2 separate regions of the Homo sapiens genome follow, and region 1 is linked to region 2. Evidence: promoter capture Hi-C in human tissues and cell types (Jung and others, 2019). All regions are on one chromosome and are shown on one strand. Each heading gives the region's core, a stretch centred on a gene start or on the middle of the fragment in contact. The rest is flanking DNA. Distances are from core to core; before and after follow the strand shown.

Evidence for each region. Contacts are between HindIII fragments. The study calls those that stand out against the background at their distance.
Region 1: a contact is called between a fragment that was not itself captured here and the fragment with the promoter of MKX in region 2, in 2 of the 25 tissues and cell types used here (neural progenitor cells and spleen).

The regions. Positions count from the first base shown.
Region 1 is chr10:27,573,780-27,578,017 of GRCh38, forward strand. All of the region lies in intron 2 of LINC02680 (long intergenic non-protein coding RNA 2680), which reads left to right. Among named protein-coding and RNA genes, the nearest start is that of LINC02680, 9.7 kb to the left of the region's middle. The HindIII fragment of the contact is 7,453 bases long and covers 1-4,238 here.
Region 2 is chr10:27,743,344-27,747,767 of GRCh38, forward strand. It overlaps MKX (mohawk homeobox), which reads right to left and starts at 2,476. Exons shown (of 7, transcript NM_173576.3): 1 at 2,364-2,476; 2 at 1-154. The coding sequence starts at 72. MKX-AS1 (MKX antisense RNA 1) reads left to right here and starts at 1,272. Exons shown (of 2, transcript NR_121652.1): 1 at 1,272-1,605. RefSeq lists an enhancer at 1,967-2,557. The HindIII fragment of the contact is 9,708 bases long and covers 1-4,169 here.

The sequences.
Region 1 (4,238 bases), core at 1,530-4,029, 170 kb before region 2:
AGCTTTCCAGAGCAATTGCCACCATATTTTTCAGCTCTGTATTCCAGAAACACAAGATTGTCATATAAGAAACACAAGTAAGAGATTTTCTCCAATAACAATAACATCAAAACTCCCTTAGACTGCAAAAAATTAAATAGATTATAATTAAGAAAATATTTTAAACAAAATCCAGCTGTTAATCTAAATGCTGATGTTTTTCCTGTTTATAATAGTCTGGATTGAAAAGACTCAAGAAGAATACCTCAGGGTAGAATAACAACTTATTAATCTTATCATTTTCACCTAAATTTTCCTGAGCAGAGGTGCATTCTGCTTGGTTGATATAATTATCATAATAACAGTAAAAGTAACAAAGGAGGCTCTATTTAAACCGATAATTAGAACTTAGCTAATATCATCTGGAATATTTTGTAAGTTCAAATATTTACTGTAGGAATTAATTGATTGGAAAGTCCTATTAAATGAAATTTAATAATATTTTTAAGTAAATTTAAGTAAAATGTATTTTTAAATTATACAAATAATATAGATTCATTTAAGAAAAGTTAGAAAGTTTAGATAACCAAGGAATATGAAAGTATAAGAGTAAGCTTACATATTACTGATTCCTGGTTTGTCACCCCAAAATGCCCTCAAAAGAAAGATCAAATAAATACTATCTGGGGGACAAACTTAGACAAGTCTTTAAATTAGGAACAATGCCAACTGTACTATACAAATGTCACAGAATTCCTGCTGCATACATTACAGTTTGGATCAAGTGAAGGAAGATGGGAGAGTCATGGGTCTTTTCCTTTTCTAAGAAAGCAGTGCAGTATTTTTGGAAGTAAGAAAAAGACATTCTGTTGATGAGGGAGGGGAACAACACTGCAAAGGATGCATCTGGAAGCATCCATGGATCACTGGGGAGTCTCACATACTGTGGTCCCATCTTCCTGCTGGAGATCATGGAGAAGCTAAAGTGTGTAAGAGGCAGTGATAGAAGGAAAAACAAATGCTTCTTTTCTACCATTTTTCTATTATCTGGTGACTTCTTTGAAGCATGGGGCTGTTTAGTACTAGGGGATGTCCCCAGTCTTCAGGGGCTGAGTCGTTAAGATAAGAAATAGACCAGGAAAGAAACTAGATGAGATTTACTTGGGGCTATTTCTAGACCTTTGAACTAGCAGTAGCAAAGGGAAAAACTAGGAGGAAAGTTATGAATACCCTTATCAAATGAAAGCCTATATTCACTACAATTTTTTTAATCTGAAACTTTTCATTATTTTTATTTTTTATGAACAAGGCCTTGCTCTATTGCTCAGGCTGGAGTGTAGTGGCACAATCATAGCTTACTACAGCCTGGAACTCCTGGGCTCAAACAATCTTCCCACCTCAGCCTCCAGAGTATCTAGGACTACAGGCATTCACCCCTAGGCCCAGGTAATTTAAAACATTTTTAAAGAGACGAGGTCTTGCTATATTGCCCAGGCTGGTCTTAAACTCCTGACCTCAACTGATCCTCCTGCCTCAGCCTCCCCAAGTGCTGGAATTACAGGCATGAGCCACCATGCCTGGCCCTGGTTTTAAAAAGTCATTGAAATTCTTGGTGGCTGGTTAATGCAGAGAAACAATTGAAATCATAGTCCTCTCTTCTTGGTAGACCATCATACACCACCAGCATGCTATAATGGCAGCAGAAACATCATTACAGGAAACCAAACAAGCTAAAAACATACAATAACATCAAAAACAGAAATAAAGTTGCCAAAGGCAAAATTCCAGCGCTGGTTGGCCCCCATGATACTCATATCCACCTGTACGACTCAGACTATGGAATGATCAAGAGACAACAATGTAAATCTGCATCTTTCAGGTCATTTTAAAATTAGTTTTGGACATGTAATACACATGTTTAAAAAATTCACAAGCTAAAATAATCATTTTAATGATGAGAAATTATCATTTTTCCTCTTTATTACTTTTTAATTATAAAAATAATATATACTTGTTATAAAAAAACTCAAACATTTAGGAGGGATCAAGGTAAAAAGTTAAACTATATTAGTTCCCTATTGATGGAGATCATGGAGAAGCTAAATTCTATAAGAGGCAGCGATAGAAGAAATGCTTCTTTTCTACCATTTTTCTATTATCTGGTGACTTCTTTAGTCACCATATAAATTACCATAAACCTGGTGGCTTAAAGCAACTTGGATTCATTCTTTTTACAATTCTGAAGGCCATTAGTCTTTAATGGAGTTCCCTGGGCCAAAATCAGAAAGTCAATCAGGCAGCACTCACTGGGGACTTTGGGGAGAATCCATTTCCTTGGCTTTTTCATCTTTTGCGGGATATCCTCATTCCTTGGCTTGTGGTCACACCACATCACCTCTCCTACCTCTGATCTCAGTGTCACCTCACTTTCTCTTCCTTGTAAAATCTCCCTCTGCCTACCTCTTATAAGGATCCTTGTGATTACATTTAGAGCCCACCCAAAGAGTCTCTCCCCAGCTCAAGATCCTTAACTTAATTATATCTATAAAGTCACTTTTGCCACATAAGATAATATATTCACAGGTTCTGGGGATTCGAATGTGGACATTCTTGTGGGGGGCATTATTTAGCCTTCCACATGAGACCTCCTCCACTTATTCCAATTCTGCCCCATCCCTCTACTCAGAGCAAACCACTATCAACTTTTAGGGTTGTATCTCAATACCTTTGTTATGTTACACGTCTATATTCCCACATGACTTTAGGGCTCCTCTGCAGGTGCATAGAGCAACCAAGAATCAAGCGTTCAGGAATTTGTAATTATGTCACCTGGAGAGCCATGCAAATGTAACATGTGTCCAAAATGCACTCAAATCATAAGCACTACAAAAAAATTAAGATGAAATTCTTGCCCAATCACTGCTAAGTGGACCACAAAAGCATTTCAGTTCATAATATTATTTTATTTTACTTCTCAAAATAGGTCCCAGTCCTATTCTCTGTAGGTCTCAGAATAACCAAAGAGAAGTAAATCCCTGTTTCCAATGAAAGCACAATGGAGGGGAGAGACGTGGGAAGGGCAGGTCCTAATTCTGAAGCCAAAAGGATGTGGGAAAACCCAAAATATTAAACTGCGATCAGCATCGTGGCACACATTTTGCGTTTTCCTTTGACCCTGTTGTCCAATAAATGAATGCCTTTAAAATTTTTATTTTAAAATAAAATATTTTATTTTGTTCTTAAAATACTTCATTTTAGGGAGCACAATTTGATTGGGCCATGTAGTAGGTCTGGTGATATTTCAATAAAAGGATTTCTTTTAGCTAACTGAGGGGAAAACCGGGAGAAAAATGATTCCTAAGTGGAGTTAAGATTCACATTAGGGCCGGGCACAGCGGCTCACTTCTATAATCCCAGCACTCTGGGAGGCCATGCCTGCAGATCATGTGACGTCAGGAGTTGGAGACCAGCCTGGCCAACATGATGAAACTCCATCTCTACTGAAAATACAAAATTAGCTGGGCATGATGGCACATGCCTGTAATCTCAGCTACTTGGGAGTTTGAAGTAAGAGAATCATTTGAACCTGGGAGGCAGAGTTTGCAGTGAGCCGAGATCATGCCATTGCACACCAGCCTGGGCAACAAGAGCAAAACTCCATCTCAAAAAAAAAAAAAAAAAAAAAGAGATTCACGTTAAGCAGATTGTGGTGGCTCCTGCCTGGAATCCCAGCACTTTGGGAGGCCAAGGCAGGAAGATTACTTGAGGCCAGGAGTTCAAGACCAGCCTGGCAACAGTGAGACCCCATCTGTACAAAATAAATAAGTAAATGAATAAACAAAATAAAATAAAATAAAAAATAATTACTTTCGTGGAGTTCACTAATCCTGGTTGTCTTCTGGTTTCTATTTCTCCTGATTTATTTTCCTTTGGTGAGAGAATCTCTGATCTTTTGGCCAAAGACATGACTACTCGGAATAAAGTCTACATGGTTTAGTCTCCCTTGGTAGGTACTTCTACATAAGTGATATTTGTCAAAAAGATTCAAGGGCAAGTAGTGCACAAAATTTCCAGTATGTGCCTTCCTCCCTTCCTGTATCCTACTAAAATATAAACCTGACAGCAAACCGTCTTGGACCACGTCATGAGGACAATGCTGTATGGATAGCAGAGCAACAAGATAGAAACAGCCATGGTCCCTGGTAACTCCGAGGAATAGAGCCCCTTGAGTGGCTTAATTCTGGACTCTTCTGCAAGAA
Region 2 (4,424 bases), core at 1,226-3,725:
CTCCCGCTCCGAGGCGCCTCCGTCCTCAAACAGCACCGCACCGCTGAGCTTGTTGAAGACGATGGTGTTCATGGTGTCGGTTGGTAGGGACGCGCGGCGCGGCCGCAGAGCCTCGGGGCTGGGCCGCCGGGAGCTCCGCAGCGGGGCTCGGCTTCTAGGAGAGGAAGGTGCATCTCGTTACTTACTGGCTGAGAGTGCTCAGACCCCTGCAGGTTCAGGGCCTTGAACTTGGCCGGGTCGCCGGGCTGCGGAGCCGAGGGGAGGAGCGGCGCCGCCGCAACTGGCAGGGACCCTGCGGCTCTCCCCAGTTGGCTACACGCCCCCGCCCCTGCAGGTTCCCCGGACAGGTACCTGCCCTCTTCCTTGCCTGGGCGATCGATCCCCCCAATCCCTTCACTCCCCAGAACTACAACCGGGAATCATTCACCCGCAGAGGCAAAGGAAACGAATTCCCAAACGAGCCTCTGGGTTTCAGTTTGAATCTGGGAGAGGCATACTCCGGACTGCGGAGCGCGACCGGCGTGAGGCCGCGCGTGGTTCTTCAATCACAGCAGAAGACTAAAGCCTCTAGGAACCCCAACTCGGGGCGTCAGGAGGGGTTGGATGGAAGGGAAGATTTGGGGTAATGTGCCAACCGTATCCACAAGACCCCCCAGCTCATGAGTCCCAGGCCATACCGGGATTTGGGGGATTTTCGTGTTTTCTAGATCGTGGATGGTTTGGTTGAAACCCCCGCATCTTCTGTCCGCCAAGGTCCCCCGGGGTGAGGTTGGGTTCAAGGACAGGAAAAAGTTAAGTGGCGTCAGGACGAAAGCACCACTTCTCCCCCTTCTCTCCCAGAATCTTCCTATCATCCCCCAACGCGCCCCGGGAAGTGCATGGTCCTAAGGTCCAAGGCGCCAGGACCCAGGTCCCCAGAGCCCTCAATCAGTGCCATTCTCTTCCGCAGCGCGGGTGTCAGCCGCGAGCTCGTAGCCCCTCGACACCCGCCTCTCTCTGGGGTCTCCGGGGACCCTTTCAGAGGCTGTAAAGGTGTCAGAAGCCCAAGGCAGGAGGCAGCTTGGTCGGCGCACCTCCCGGGCCACTGCTGCCACTGTCGGGGAGAGCCAGCAGCTCACCTCTGGGGTCGCGGAGGCCCTGAGCCTCTGCCTGCCGCGCACCGGCGTCAGGAGCAAGTCCGCGCGGCCGCGGAGCCGCAGAGTTACAGCCCCAAGGCGCGCGGCGGACTTCGCCCGCCCCATCTCCTCGCCTCGCGCCTCGGGACAGCTCCCGTTTCCTCCGAGCGGCCTCAGCTTCGCTGCCAGCGCCCCCTTTGCCCGTCCAGCCGCGGCATGGGCTGCTACTCCACTAACACACGCGCGCGCGCATACACACACACACACACACACACACACACACACACCCTTTGCCTCGCCAAGCGCCCACACTCGCCAACGCCCCCGCCCCGCCCTTCGGCCACCGCAGCAGAGGCCACGCGTGACATTTAGGACCACGCGTGACCACCGCGATCAAACGACGGCTACGGTCTGTGTTCGTAGGGAAGTGAAGTCAGACCTCTGCTGGATGTCGTGTGTCCCCTAGGACTGCGTCCTCCCGCGCAGACAGGTACGTGCCTGGGGTGTGCACATAGCCTCGGTGATAAGTGTCAAAGAGAATTTTCGTGCTTGCAGCCCCTGTTCTACAGTCAAGACTCGCGTTGGTGTTTTCTTTTAAAATCATGCCCTTAGGGATGTGTGTTCATGCTGCTTTATTTGTACAAGACACCCTTCCCCGGCCCGGCCTTCTCCGAGCCACCCCAGCGCGTCCTCCTAGATGCGACGACGTGTTTTTCCTAGCGAAGTCATCACGAGGTTAGCCACCTCGGACACTTCCCCGGCAGCCCCAAGCCCACGCAGAGATCGCAGACACAGACACCCGGCGCGCTGTAGGTCTGCAGGCAGCAGGCTCAGAGGCAAGCGATGGCAAAGGTCCGAGCGCTGTCCTGTCGCAAGGGGTCCGGGGGCGTGTGAACCACACTTGCTGACCCTCCCAGGACTCCCGCGCGCGGCCACCCGCGCCTCTTCTCAAATCACTTACCCCGATTCACTCCAGACTGTGGCCGGGGAGGTCACTCCCTGCAGAAGTGTCCCCCTCCCCCAACGCCGGCGAATAATTTTAAAGCAAAGGAGGCGCGGCCAGGTGGGCTCCCAAGCTCCGCGCAGACCCTTGGGCCAGCCTTGGCCGCTACCCGAGCGCCTCTCCACCAGACCTTGGAGGGAAGTTGGGGGAAGGGCGGGAGAGCACCGGCGCCCAGGGCGCAGGGGCCAGAGCGAGCCTGGCGTTCCGCCGCAGCCGGCTGAGACTCGGCGACGCGGGGGCTGTACCTGTGGCTGCGGGGCCGACGGCCGGCTGCAGGGCGGCTGGCTCTCCCGCCTCGAGACTAGGCGCACTCCCATCCCCGCCGCATGTTCTCCACGCGGGCTCCAGCGCGCTCACCACCGCCACCGCCGTCGTCTCGGCTTTATTTACCCAGCCCGGCGCGCGCCGCCCGGGAACAGGAATAGCGAGGCCTTCTCATGTTTCCTGACTGCCGGTCCCAGCCGGCGAACATCCTGCGGGCGCGGTATCCACGTTCCCGGGCGGGTGGAGAGGAAGCGTCCGCGCCCGCCCGGCCGCGGGGGCTGCTGTTAACCCCTAGCAGAGGAGCCGCTGCCGGGGAGCCCCGGGCCCGCCGAGTCCTCCGGAGCCGGGCGCGGCTCCCAGATCCGCCGGCCTTGCAGTCGTGGAGCAGACGGGGCTTTTCCCTTCGCACTTTAGGAGAGAAATTGGAGAAGCTGCCGGGAGCGCTCGGCTCCGGCTCCAGAAGCTGAGAGGCTGCGGTGCAAATCCCGTGTCTTAGCTGGCCCGATTGCCGGAAATTTCACTGCGCGTGGCTAGGCGGGAGAGGCCACTGTGACGCGCCCTGTATTTTCCTCTCGATTAGCTGGAGGGAAGTTAGAGCTCCGTTTTGCACCTACAGCCCTGGAGCGTATTGCGGGAAGTGCTAGTGCCCAGGAGCCTCTTTTCTGATGTCACTGGGCTTCTGGGGTCCTAGTTGTCTCAGTCAAAGCCAGGCACACATTCACCTCCGGGGCAAGGGCTGGTGAGGCTGCCCTCGCCGCTGGGTATAGGGATGGGGGAAAGCAAGGATGGGATGAGTTCAGCCCAGGTGGCCAACCCGCGGTGGCCCAAGTGCAGAAGAGGAAGCGCGCCCAAAGCCAAGGATCTGCACGCAGCAAAGGAGATGGAACTTAGAAGAATCACAAGCTGGGACACAGGGCAAAGAGAGAGAATGGCTACCAGATTCTCTGATTGATGATACTTTGCTTCCTAACATTACCGCAAATATAAGTAGCGAAAGCGGCGGTTTAGGTGCAACTGCAAGCTCAGAGCTTCTGGCAGCCCAGAAGATCCCCAAGGTGCCAACACGAAGCTGCCTGCGCTCTCGCCGAAGGCCCTGTGGTCCTAGCGAACTTTCGCCCTTTTTAAAGAACAAACTTAGATTTCCCCCCACCAAGCTTAAAGAAATAGCGCCATTTGTCCTTTTCCCCTCTAAATGCGGCTGGCCAGAGCCGGGGCAGTGGCCCACCTTAGCATCTTCTTCGTGTGTGTGTGTGTGTGTGCGCGTGTGTGTGTGTGTGTTTGTGTGTTGGGGGGGTCGCTAGAAGTGCTTAAAATATATACCAAAACTATTATTTTAAAGACTAATCACACCCTCAAATTTCATATGTGTCACCTCCCAAATTACGCGATAGCAAACCGTTGTGCAGGGGTACAATGTAAACCATAAAGGAAGGCCGGTTTACATTTTTGCGCACCAGGAAGATACAAAGTATCATTGGAGCACGTTCTGATGTCCTCGGTTCTCTTTTGTTATATAACTTGCTGTTGCAGCGCTTGCATCTTGTCTTTGGCGCTGCCCTTGTGGTGTGAGTTCAGTACAGGCTTCTGGTCTACAGACCTCGCTGTAGGAGCTTAAAGACAGGGGTAAATCCTAAGGTTTCAGCCATCAATTTTCAGCTAACAAATTTCACCACAGAAGCAGATCTAATTGATAATTCATAGGACAAAAGAGCCACCTTCTCTTTTATGGTCTCTATCAGTGGTGTTAGTCACCGGGAATTGTAATGAAATTAGCTCTAACATACCCCTGAAACATTTTTTGGTCAGCTGTCCCAGGTAAAGCAATAGGCATCATACAGTTACTTGCAATTTCCCAGTATTCTACTAACTTTTTGAGCTATATGCTATAGTACATGTTAGTATAGGACAAATGAATTTTGTTGTTTTAGTACTTAACTATATTTACTCAATTTAAAAATGCATTTAGAGCGCTTTTAAGATATACTTACATGTAATATTTGTTTTCTTAAAGTCTGAAATGAAATATACAGCAAAAATCTTAA